2 separate regions of the Homo sapiens genome follow, and region 2 is linked to region 1. Evidence: promoter capture Hi-C in human tissues and cell types (Jung and others, 2019). All regions are on one chromosome and are shown on one strand. Each heading gives the region's core, a stretch centred on a gene start or on the middle of the fragment in contact. The rest is flanking DNA. Distances are from core to core; before and after follow the strand shown.

Region 1 (6,161 bases), core at 2,516-5,015:
ATTCAAGAATTTGCCAGACTGAATATGAATACTCTTGGAGTGTAAGTGAAACAAAAATGAGGCCTTTGGTGACCTATTATCTATCGATCTATATCTATCTATCTTTCATCCCAGATTGGTTTTAGAATGAGAAGAACAAAAGTTGCTTTTTCTCATTTCTTACTCTTACACAATGAAGTGGTTAACAAAATTGATACAGAGTGACAACTTTAATGATCATTCTGTTGCAAACAACTACAAGTCCAAACAAATATCAGCACAAAGAAAATCTCTATTCTGTGTAGCAACATGTTGGTCAGACTTTCGCCAATGAACCACCTATTTAAAAAGGACTTGATATTGACAAACATCTCTGATCAGTCTTTGACGTTTATAGTAACAAGCTATAATGTTATCTCCTACCACCTTTCTGTTTAGGCCCCAATATGAAATGCCTATGAATGTTATAATTTTGTATAACTCCAGGAGAAACATCCAACAATATTTTTCACCTTTTTTCCCAATAGTGAAAAAATCCAAATATAATAGTTATATTTATGGATTCTGCTCTTTGTTGAACACAGTGCTTTACAGACAACATATGGTGACAAGCCATCACTCTTCCTATTTTATGTAATGAGGAAACTTAAATACAGAGTCTTTAAGGACCTAGTCAGTCACACAAATACTGAGAAAATTCTATGCTAATAATCCTATCTGCAGGTCACATCGGCACCTTACTTTCAATAATCAACGCAGGGCCGATCAATTGCATTATTCTACTACATACAACTTCTTGTTTTAGAATCAAAGAATGTCATGCCTATAAGCGACCAGAAATGCCTGGACTACCTATTCGAAAACTTTCATCTTCATTCTTCTTAGAGACATTATGTCGTCATCACCTGCTGCCACTAGATGGTGCTTGTCATCGAAACAAAGGTCCTTCCTCCTTTCTGTTTTCTTTAGATGCCTATTAGGACCTTGGATGATACGAAAGAAATTTGATTAATAAGCTAAGTACTGGGCTGGTATTCTAAGAAGTCCTTTAGTACAGAGAGTTGTTGATTAAAAAGTAAACAAATCATTATCAGTAAAGCTTACTTACACCATTTTTCTAATTCCATCAGTTTTTCTGCTCATTCTTCTTGTCACCAAGCTGTGTGAACCCCAAGACAAAAAGAACTAATAAATCTTTCTTTGTGCTTATGAGAATCAAGAGACATGGCACAAGTTTTAGGAGAGGTGAACAAAAATCTCAGGATTCATTGTTATCACCCGGAAAAGCAATCGAAAGTGATCACATGCAGAGTTTATAAGAAAAATTAATCAATGACCTTTCAAAGGAAAACACGTATATCTCAACTACTGGACACTAATCAATAGGAAAGGAAATAGAACACTCTTTTAATTGTGGGATAGCAAACATCAAGTAATGAAAATGATAACAGAGGTTGTCAACGCTTTGCCAAAGACTCTTTTTCTCATTAATTTAAGACACATACCAAATCTCACCTCTATAGTACTCTCATTGTCTCCCTGCCTCCCACCCCACAAACCAACTTTATGCTCCTTTTAGGGTAAATTCTTGCCAATCTTTGTACTGAAATGCCTTCAGGAGTTACCTATTTAACTTACGTGAAGGAAAGTTTGATATATTTTGCAGCAGAATGCTTGAAAAATGTGTTTCTTGGACTTTTTCTTTCTTATTCACCAGCACTGAGTGTTCATGGCTGCTTCACGATTATAATGAGAAATTGCCAGCTATGTTGAAATACATAATCCACAGTGTGAAAAACTGCTGAACAGCAATGGCAAATTTTTAATACAAAAGTGACTTCCCTTTGCCTGTTAGCTTACTTTGCGGTTGCTGATTCTTGCTAACTGCCTGCTCAGGGAGTGAAAGTTAATTTTAACATTAGCCTAGAAACAGAACATAATCATTTAGGTGAAAACTTTAAAGCTAAATTTTTGTTTTATCTTTGGTTTTGAGTTTCCCATGAAAAATTCCCAGTGATATATCACTGCACTGGGTTATGTAGAATGTGTGAACATATATGTGAGCCAGATGTGACAACAGACACATGACAGTACATTTTAATTTCAGACATCAGATTGGCGTGTTTCCTTGTGCCTTCTGAGCATTAACTAAGGATTTTAAAGATAGAAACTTTTTAAAAGACACAGGCTCCATACCTGCTTTCCAAGCACTGGTGAGGCACCATGGATCTCTGGATCTCTTCCAGTTTTGAATACTAGAAAGAAAAGCCTCTGTCCTCAAATTATTTCCTCCCTACCCTCATTTTTTTTTTCTCTTGGAGGTCCTATAAGCTATAGCTTTGTATTGAAGAAATACTGGGGACCAGGAGCAGTTGGTATGTTAAATTATTTCTCTTGAGCTTTATGCATTTTGGTGGCTACTGTTGAAAACACAGTTTGGTCAGTGATGTCCACATACACATTACATATAATATGTATTACTAGAAAATGATATACACTTGCATGATATACCATGTGGTTGCAATCCATTAAGTGACTACTCTCTAGCAGTACCCAGAACAATAGATGGTGTGTCTGTGCTGACAGTCTGTTCATATCTTAATGGTTTACTTATGATTCAATAGTTTACCAATGGCAATGGTGCTGGATCACTGATATATTATTTGCTTGGCAAAGAGTACTTGAACCTCATTATTAGACTTAGGAACAGAATAAATACAAATAATCACTTTGCTAAGGCTGTTTTCCTAACTCCCAAGGAAGACAGAAAGGCATCAGTGACATAAGTGAAGGACACAGTTGACAACCACGTTATCTTCAGACATCTTTTGTTAAAGGTGAACAATTACTTAATACTGTGTTATGGCAGCACTCTATACGCCCCAAGTTTTATAAAGTAGAGTCAAGAGTGATCTGAGCTGGGAAACTCACGCAATTTTAGTTCTGCATGAAAGCACAGGCTCTCCCCACTGGGGAACTCTTTTGAGTAGGACAAAAAGCTGGACCTAGGACCCAGCCCAGGGCGTGAGAGAAAAGGAACCTGGGAGGCAAGAGCGGCCGGTCCGGAGCCGGGTCCTCCGCCAGCTCCGGGCGGGCGCTGCGCACAGAGCCCAAGCCCCCGGCGGAGGCGGCGCGGCTCGAGGCCCCTCCCCGCCGCCGATGCCCGGGCGGCTGACGCCGAGCAGCGGCCCGGAGCGGTGGGGGCCGGGCTGGCGGGCACGAGCGAGGGCAGGGCAGGGGGCCGGCCGAGGCCACTTACGGCTTTAAATATGGATCGCAGGCTCGCGCTCGCGGCACAGCCTCCGCCGCGGCCGCCTTCCGTGAGCCCCCGCACCCCGGCTTGCTCCCGAGGGGCGCCTGGGCTGGGCTCCACTGCTGCAGTGTTAGTTACTAGCAGGAACATCAGAGATCCCCATAAATATGCAGGAGCTGCAGGAGGCAAAGTAGAGTAGACGCCCGCGCTCTTACACACTCGCTCGCCGCGCACCACACAGGCTGTGTAGACATCCCCCCGCGCCACCTTTCCCCTTTCCTCGCGGGCCGTTCAGGTTGCAGTCCTGCCTGCTCCGAAGACCCTCCCGCCCCAGCGCCTTTGCCCCGCTCTCCCGCGCTCGCCTCTCTCCGGAGCGCGCACCCACCCAGGCGGCAAAGTTGTGACTACTTGGGCGCGGGTGACTGGCGCCCCGCTCGCTCCGCGCCCGGCGCAGACAACTTCCCGCGGCTCGGCCCCGCCGCGTCCCGGGCTCGCGCCTCCAGGGATTCCGCGGCCCCCCAGCCTCCAACCCCGGCGGCGCGCCGGGCAGCGCTTCGGTGGCGGCGGCGGCCGCGGTGGCAGCGAAGGCGGCGGCGGCGGCGGCAGTGGCAGTGGCCGCTGCAGCCCCACACTCCGCCGCCAAACTGGAGGAGCGACGGAAGCCAGACCCCAGGAGGTGAGCGCCCGGCCCCGGCAGCTGCCGGGAGGGTCGATGGGGTCCCTCGCTCCAAGGCGGAGGCGGGCGCGGGCCCGGGGGCCGATTCCGTAGGGCGCGCAGGCGGCCTCAGCGCGCTCCTGGGAGGGAGAGAGAGGTCAATTGCGGGCCGGGCATCCCCTGAGCTGGGCGCGGGCGGTGTGTGGAGGCTGCTTCCGCGGAAAAGTATTTTTTTTCCTTCTTAGGGTTTAGAGGAAGAGTTTGGGTGGTCTGCTTCTCCCTCACTGCTAAGTCCCCTGCGCGCAACTGGGCGTCTTTACGAGGACTGCGGGGCCAGTTCTGCGGCGGGCTGGGCTCGGGCTCAGTGACACGTGTGTTGCTGTGAGCCTGGGTGGTCGCCCTGTGACCAGGCACCTGCTTGAGAGGAACACATCCCTAAACCCATCACAGGGGGAGATTTGGGGACTCTTGGTGCTACCGAGGCCGCGGCCCCCACTTCACTGCCAGCTCCAGGACGGAGCATTTACATCTCTCCCTGGCACGCCAAAGGCGGGGGGTGAGTCAGGCAGATTCTCTGCAAGTGGCACACACACATTTATTTGCAATGGATTTGGCTAGGGGAGGCATAGGTTAAACTGGAATTTCTCTTGGCCAGCGACAACGGAGCTCTCCCTCAGGTACTGGGCAGCATGTGAGTCTTGGCAAAGAGAGGTGATTTCTTTTTTCTTAAGTGCATTTTACTCAGCCGTTGCCAGTCCGTTAATAAGTCACCAGAGGAAGGCAGGACCTGGGAACTACATCAGCAAACCGCAGCAAGCACCATAAAGACAAAAGTTCTTATAGAACAAAAAGAAAAACTTGAACTTGACGTGAAAGATGGAGGAAGCAGTTCTACCTCTCTTCTATCACTTTTTTCAGCGCCCTGTAAAACTGTTTTTTTCTATCCTTCCTTCCCTCTCAAGGCCCTACCTTCTCAGCATAATTGATCGCAGCAAGCTCTTTCCAACTTGACACTGAAGAGCAGCGACCCCTTTGGCTTACCCTCCCCATTTCTTTTCCTGGTTCGCTTCAGTGCCCTGGAAAGTTGCTCCTAATGAGAAATCAAGAACACTGGGCTGTACTAAACGCTCATTGTCTCAAATCCTGCAGCAGTTCCTTTCCTAAGAGACACTGTGTTGTACTGTATTTCTCTTTTTTCTTGTATCTTGGGACTTGGAGTTGTAATACTACCTGAATTAAATTAATTAAAGTGTACATTGCTCATTTGGGCTTTTTTTTTTCATTGTGATTTCAGTAGATTCGTCAATGCCATTAGAACAATATTCAGTAGCTTTTTATAGCCAATGTGATGTCTTTTGAAAACGTTTCTGACTACAGCTCTCTTTCTTGTGTCTTTCATATTAGCATGTAAATAATTTACATGGTCATTTTAGTACTTAGACTGAAGATATTAGTATAACTTCATTCAAAGGAAGTGTGCCTGTTTATTTTTCTATAACTTTTATAGCTGAGAAAAAACTTTTACTTTCATTTTAAAGTTAAAAGTACTGATAGGATTCTGGTCTTTGTGGTAGATCTTGAAATTGAATGATTTGTTTTAACTGTATCCCACACTGTCAAGTAAGATGACAGAGAAACTCTCATATATGTAGATGGAGACAGGAAAGCAGTACCACTACATTATGAGCTGTTGAGGCAGAGAACATTTGTAGGAGTGGGGGTGACAAGGACAAGATGGGATATTTTGATAGTCCCAGCCATGTTAAAAAAACTGAAAACTAAGAAACCCCCAACATTTTGGATTTAAGTGTACTTCAGAATGAGGGTTTTGGTGCCATTTGCTCTTTTGGGGTCATTTCTGGAGACTTAAAAACATACATTAGACACCTTACCCAATGAGATTGACAGAATGTACTCTCAGTTTAGATTAATGTATTTCTTTTAGTTCACGTAGTCAATATTAAATAATTTTAGATGTTTGAATGTTAGTACTATGATTTCAGTCTTCTAAATGATTAAGAGACATTTTGGATTTACAAAAATGTTGTGTGAAAGAAATAAAGGCAATCAGATTTAGAGGAATAATGCGATAGAAATCGGGTAACCTTTGGGACAACTTCCAGTAGGCCCTGATGGTAATCTCATTTTTCGCTGAGTGCTGGCAGGTACAGTTTTGAGGTTCTGATCCCTTGTTCCGATAACAAGAGTGATATCTGGCCATAGCTTACATCTTAAAGGAAAAGACAACACTTAAAGAAATGCACACTAGCTGGT
Region 2 (6,372 bases), core at 952-3,451, 1.1 Mb after region 1:
CCTTTTTCTAAAGTTAGAAACAAAAAAAGAGAGAGTCAGCTGGCGAAGCCAATAGAGGACTAAAATTACCAACATTGAGCTGTAATACGATGTCCACTTCCCAAATTGTGAAATGACTCATATATGCTTGACATGTGCAGGTCTATTATATGGTATAATGTGTCTGAATACTTCATATAAGCTAGGTCATCATCTAATTATGTTATGAATGAGCATTATATTAATGAGTTTCACCTTAAATATTTTCTCATGTGTGAATTTTTTTTGAAAACCTGTATCTTAAAATAAGAAAAATGTCTTCTTTCTGTATGTGTCAGGCTCTAGGTCTCAAGAGGAGAGGACATTATTCGATCTTGTCCTCTCTTTTTCCTCTAACCCCTTTCCCTCATCGCCCCTGTTAGGAGGCCCCTCTTAGAAGTACGACCTGTTTTCTCTGAGTTAGAGAAGGAGTCCAACCAAAGGTCTCCCATGTCTAAGTGTGAGCACTTTGGCATTGCAGAGTCCTGTTCATAACCTGGGTTTCATTAGGGCCAGAATTTACTTTTGTGTGGAGGAGCAAAAGGGAGAGATATTCTGAGAAAAATAAGAGCAAAGGAATACATTAACCTTATGGGAATTTGCCTACTGATAAATGAGAAGAGCTTACAGGCAAAAAAAAAAAAAAAAAATGGTACAATCAATCAAAATATGGAGTCACATGAAAAAAATCAATCAATTACAAAAAAATTAAGGCAACTTTTCAGACTTCTCGTTCCACCCCCAAATCATTATAAGAGGTTCTGGAAAAGAGATTCACACATGGTCTCAAAAGGCCATTTGATTCTAATAGCAGTTTGAGATTCTGATAGAAAGTATTACTTATTTTACTTCAAATATGGTAGAAACATGTGACCGTTAGAACTCTTAGGATTGCCCTTTGGGCCTCAATTTTAGAACAACAGAACAACTAAAAGGGATATGAAATCACTATGATAGTTAAGCTATCTTATTAGCTCCCTGGTTTTATATTCAAAACAATTTCTTCTGGCTAAAGAAGGAGAATCAAGAAAATTCTTGCTAACCATTGGGCACGTCTGTAGAAATGCACAGCTGTACCAGCTCCAAGATCAATAAAGCTTACTTACAAAGTGGCAGCCTCTTAACAGGAATAACTACATAAGAATAAAATATTCTGGTGACAGTATATGTTAAAACTTCTGAGTAAAGTTTGTTCTTTTGGTTTTGATTTGTATTTTGAGCTCTTACATATGTCAATACTTTCCAAAGTAAAATGATTAAATATATAAGTCCTATGTCTCCCTCTCATGGTCAGATATGTTCTTGCTATAATATATTTCAGATGAAAATTTATAATGAAGTAATTTATAAGGGTTGAAGACTTAAAGCCTGAAAATGAGCTTCAAAAAATAAAACATTTGACAAGATAGTGCTTTGCCAATTTTCTTGACAAAAAGCACCATTCAGCAGATGTCAATATTCAAACAATGTCTTACTTATGGTGTTGGAGGCCAAGGAAAAAGCAACTTCTTTAGGCCTGAGTCTTCTAATATGTGAAAACAACGTCCACAGTTGTCACTGTCGTGGCTTTAGCAGAACTGCATTTAAGAGAAGGGTTGTGGTGGATGGGGATGGGTGGGCTAGGAAAACAAGGCAGGAGAAGAAAATATAACGGAAGAGAGAGTGCAACAAACAGATGGGGGTGGCGAGAGACTGACTTGGGGAGAGAAAATGAGACAGGAAGAGAAAAAGATGTCAGTGGAGGGGCTAGGAAGAGAAAGATAGGAGGAGAAAGAGACAGACACAAGGAGTAAAAGATGGAGGAGTAGAGAAAAAGAGGCTGGAAGGAGAGGAAAAAGGTGGGTATGGCCTGAATGTGTGCCCCCAAAATTCCTTTGTTGAAACCTAATCCTCACGGCAATGGTACTAACAGGGTGGGGACTTTGGGAGGTGACTAGGCCATCAGGGTGGAGCGCTTATGAATGCAATTCATGCCCTTATAAAAGAGAATCAAGGGAGCTCCCTGGCCCTTTTCACCACATGTGGACAGAAAAACAAGGCACCATCTAGGAAGCCCTCACCAGACACTAAATCTGCTGATGCCTTGATCATGGGCTTCTAGACTTAGAACTCTGAGCAATAATTTTTTTTTAATAAAGTACCCAGTCTCAGGTATTTTGTTATAGCAGCTAGAACAGACTAAGGCAGTGGAGGAGATAAGAGACAGGGAGAGAGAGAGAGGTGGAAGAGATGGAGAGACAGAGACAGACATACCAAGTTGGAGAGGAAGGGGAGGATAAAGAAAGAGAAAGGGAGAGGGTGAAGGGGAGGACACCGAGAAAGAGAAAATGGGAGAGAAAGGGAGACAGACACATGGAACAAGGAAAGAGGGGAAAGAGAGAGCCAGGAAGAGGCAGGAGGAGAGAGAAGATGAGAGGGAAAAAGAATGATAGGAGGTACAGCCAGGGAGACTAGGAGAGGGAGAGGGAAGGACAGCAAGAAGAAAGAGTAAGGCCTCGAAAAAGCATGTGTGGCTGACATAGAAAATGAGCCACATACAGGCAGCAGGTGACAGCTCATCAGAGACAGAGCAAGACAGACACCAAAAATAAGAGAGAGACAGAGGACAGCAAATGGAGACACAGATGACCGAGCACAGGACAGACAGAGATGTGGATAGAGAGCTATGGAAATGGAGGCAGAAGGAGACAGTGATAGAGCCCAAAACCATCCAATATATTTTGCTTGTTTTATTTACTTATGTTTTGAAATGGAGTCTCACTCTGTCACCCAGGCTGGAATGCAGTGGCGTGATCTCAGCTCACTGCAACCTCTGTCTCCTGGGTTCAAGCAATTCTCCTGCCTCTGCCTCCCAAGTAGCTGAAATTACAGGCATGCGCCACCATGCCCAGCTAATTTTTGTATTTTTAGTAGAGACAGGGTTTTACCATGTTGTTCAGGCTGGTCTCGAACTCCTGACCTCAGGTGATTCACCCACCTTGGCCTCCCAAAGTGCTGGGATTACAGGCATGAGCCACCGCACCTGGCCCCATTTTGCTGTTTTAAAATAGCAAATTGACTAAATAAAGAAAATATACTCTGCTTTTGCCATACAGCAAGTTGGCAGGTCAGGCAAATGCTGAATTTTATCCTATGTGCAAGGTGTCTGTTTGAAGTTACTCTATGGACAGACAGTTATTGGAAATGGCTTTAGGGTTGAGTAACATTACCCACAGATCAAAATTGAATAATTTTAGTAAAATATTTCAAAATCTTTGCAAAATTATGCTTTTAATAAAGATGTGAAGTTATAGTTAAATATAACAAGGAAAAATTAAGTGGTTCCTATTAGCAACACAAATTGATAGACGTTACATATACATGGCACAGCCCTCACTCCAATGCCACCAGCCAGAAATGGCAGGGCTATAGTGATCATGATAATTAAAAAGTGTAGGACATTACCTCAAATGCTGATCTTAAAGAACTGAACTGGACTAATATTTCACAGGTGTTTTCCTTTGGTTATTTATCAGTAAACAAATATAAATTCTATAACTTCTCTCAAAAGGAAATTCTGCTTTTTGAGGTTTAAAAACATCAGAGCAGTGAAGTCAATTGGTGTGACACCTACCATTACAAGGAGGCAGTTGACAGGCTCTGACCGACTCAGGCTTTTCACCATCACAGTGGTCCCCAGCCCTGCAGAGGACCTGCCTCACCTCCGTTCCTTCACCGCAGGTCACTGAACACTGCAGAGACAAAGGCTGTGGTTACAGACATTTATTGCACCAAGACCATGCACATACACACACACACACACACACACACACACACACACACACACACACAAAGACACAGAGATCTGGAGTGGGTTCTCTATTAAGTAATGCTGCACAGTGGTTTTGAAGACAGATACTACTGAGTTTATATTCTGACTCCATTATTTACCAGCCTGGGAGCATTGTTTTTTCTACATAAGATTCACCTTCCTTATCTAGTGGAAAGCTGGGATAATAATACCTGTCTTATAAGATTGTTTTAGGACTAAATGAAGGCAAAGGAACAAAGTGTATAAAGCAGTAACAAAATTCCTGACACCTAGTAAGCATATCATATGAAAGAAGCCATGATTAATAACAATGGTAACATCTGCTGTAGTTTCTAAATACAATGTTGATGATGTCTGTTCTCAGGGACCCAATCATAGTATTGACAGTCCTCACTTCTTTCTTACAGATAGCAGAATTTACTGATAAGTTGCCTTGGATGGTTAATTCAACATCCTTGGAACTACTATTTCTCTGTGCTCTTAAGTTCATTTCTCTAATGAAAAGGTTTACTGCTCTAAAACTAAGCTCAGAAAGTTCCATGTAATGGCCCTAGGAAGGTGCTGTGGAGGAGGGACTTCTACTGAGACTTTGATATGTGTTATCATTATCATCCTATGTGGGTGACCTGCACTTGTACTATGGTTTGAATGTCCCCTCCAAAACTCAGGTTGAAATTTAACTGCCATTGTAACAATGTTGAGAGGGACCTTTAAGAGGTGGGACCTTTCTGAGGTGATTTATGGGCATGGGTTAATGCTATTATCTTGGGAATGGGTTAGTTATTGCAGGAATGGGCTACTGATAGAAGGATCCTCTGTGTCTCTCTTGCATGCCTCCTTGCCATGTGATGCCTTCAGCTACAGGAAGACCCTCTCCAGATGCCAGTGCCATACTCTTGGACTCTGCAGCCTCCAGAACCATATGCCAAATAAACTTTTGTTCTTTATAAATTACCCAATCTGTGGAATTCTGTTAAAGCAGCAAGAAATAGATAAGACAACTTGCTTGTTTCTTCCTTTCTGGGCTTATTCTCCACTTACTCTTTAGTCTTCTGTCTGCTTTTTCATGCCCTTTCCTCCTATAAACTATTCTCCTATGACCCCAAGATTTCTTATTTTGAGTCTTTAGAAATATCTAAGACAGGTGGTAATAGCTGACAATGCAACATTGAGTCAGCCAATTAGCAAACAAACATCATCTGGACAGGTATGCTAGGCACTAGCTGAGTGCTGAGGAAACAAGGCATACTATTTTTGAGAAATGTGTGTACTAGTGGCAAATATAGATTCAAGAATCAGAGTTATAATACTCTGTCATGAACAGCATGGTAAAGTTAAGTTGTACTGCATTTCAGATATACAGGAGGAACTGCCAGGAAAGGTACCACCTGGAAGGTGGTCATTTGGACTACGGAGATGAGGTTTGGTGGAGAAGGAGAGATTATCAGGTAGGAGGAGGGGGAGTACAAGTCAGCTGAAAGGTAGGAGGCTCAAACAAGCATGGTCTGTTTGGAACAGTGTGAAGTTTACTCGAACTGGGACAAAGAGTTGGAATGAAGAAAGAATAAGAGGAGTTAGTGCAGTGCCAAATGGTGCTGGGCCCTGCATTCAATATCAGGGGTTTGGAATTTATACTGAAGGAATAGGGAAGTCAACAAAAATATTAGACAAAAGAACAGTCATCTTTCAGACTTCTTCTCTATGTTATGAAACACATAAACATGGTTTGCCCCTAACATGTACTGTCTTAAAGCATTAATTTTTCCTAACACCTCCAGGTAATTACAAAATATGCAGTAGTTTCTCAGTTCACACAAAGCCTAACTGATGTTTAAGCCAAATTAAAATATCTACACATGCTTACACACACACTTTACTTATGCATGCACGGAATTCACACACCTACCTCACTCCAGGGTCCTGTTTTCCACTGTGCAGGGCAGGGCACTCTGTTACAGGGCCGGCGGCTCTCGGGACGGTCACCCATGCAGTATTTGCTGTGCACAGAGCGGTTGGTGCCATCAAGGAGTGGCTGAAGGCAGCGTACAGTGCGAAGCTGATAGCCAGAACTTCCACAGGTTTTGGTGCAGTGTTCCCATTCTTCTGCTACCCAGCTGTGGGTGCGGGGATTTAATATTGCAATTATCACTGGTATGTATAGTGTACACATTTCTACCTGCAAAGCCTAGACTTTTCTGCTCTCTAAGTGACTTGCAACCTAGTGGGCACACTGCAGTTCAGGAAGTGGTTTCAGAAAGATGGATATAATGGATAACTTTTTAACAATAGTAGGCTGAAACTTTTATTTTATTATTATTATACTTTAAGTTTTAGGGTACATGTGCACAATGTGCAGGTTAGTTACATATGTATACATGTGCCATGCTGGTGTGCTGCACCCATTAACTCATCATTTAGCATTAGGTATATCTTCTAATACTATCCCTCCCCCTCCCCCCACCCCACAACAGTCCCCAGAGTGTGATGTTCCCCTTCCTGTGTCCATGTGTTCTCACTGTTCAATTCCCATCTATGAGTGAGAA

What was found. The method cuts DNA at HindIII sites, captures the fragments that hold promoters and counts their contacts. A contact is called where the count stands out against the background at its distance.
Region 2: a contact is called between a fragment that was not itself captured here and the fragment with the promoter of SLC4A4 in region 1, in 1 of the 25 tissues and cell types used here (lymphoblastoid cells).

Annotation. Positions count from the first base shown.
Region 1 is chr4:71,183,494-71,189,654 of GRCh38, forward strand. SLC4A4 (solute carrier family 4 member 4) reads left to right here and starts at 3,766. Exons shown (of 26, transcript NM_001098484.3): 1 at 3,766-3,908. LOC124900712 (a long non-coding RNA gene) reads right to left here and starts at 3,031. Exons shown (of 2, transcript XR_007058133.1): 1 at 1,088-3,031; 2 at 195-962. The HindIII fragment of the contact is 14,418 bases long and covers 1-6,161 here.
Region 2 is chr4:72,285,120-72,291,491 of GRCh38, forward strand. It overlaps ADAMTS3 (ADAM metallopeptidase with thrombospondin type 1 motif 3), which reads right to left. Exons shown (of 22, transcript NM_014243.3): 20 at 5,736-5,943; 21 at 3,632-3,749. Among named protein-coding and RNA genes, the nearest start is that of NPFFR2, 260 kb to the left of the region's middle. The HindIII fragment of the contact is 7,779 bases long and covers 1-6,091 here.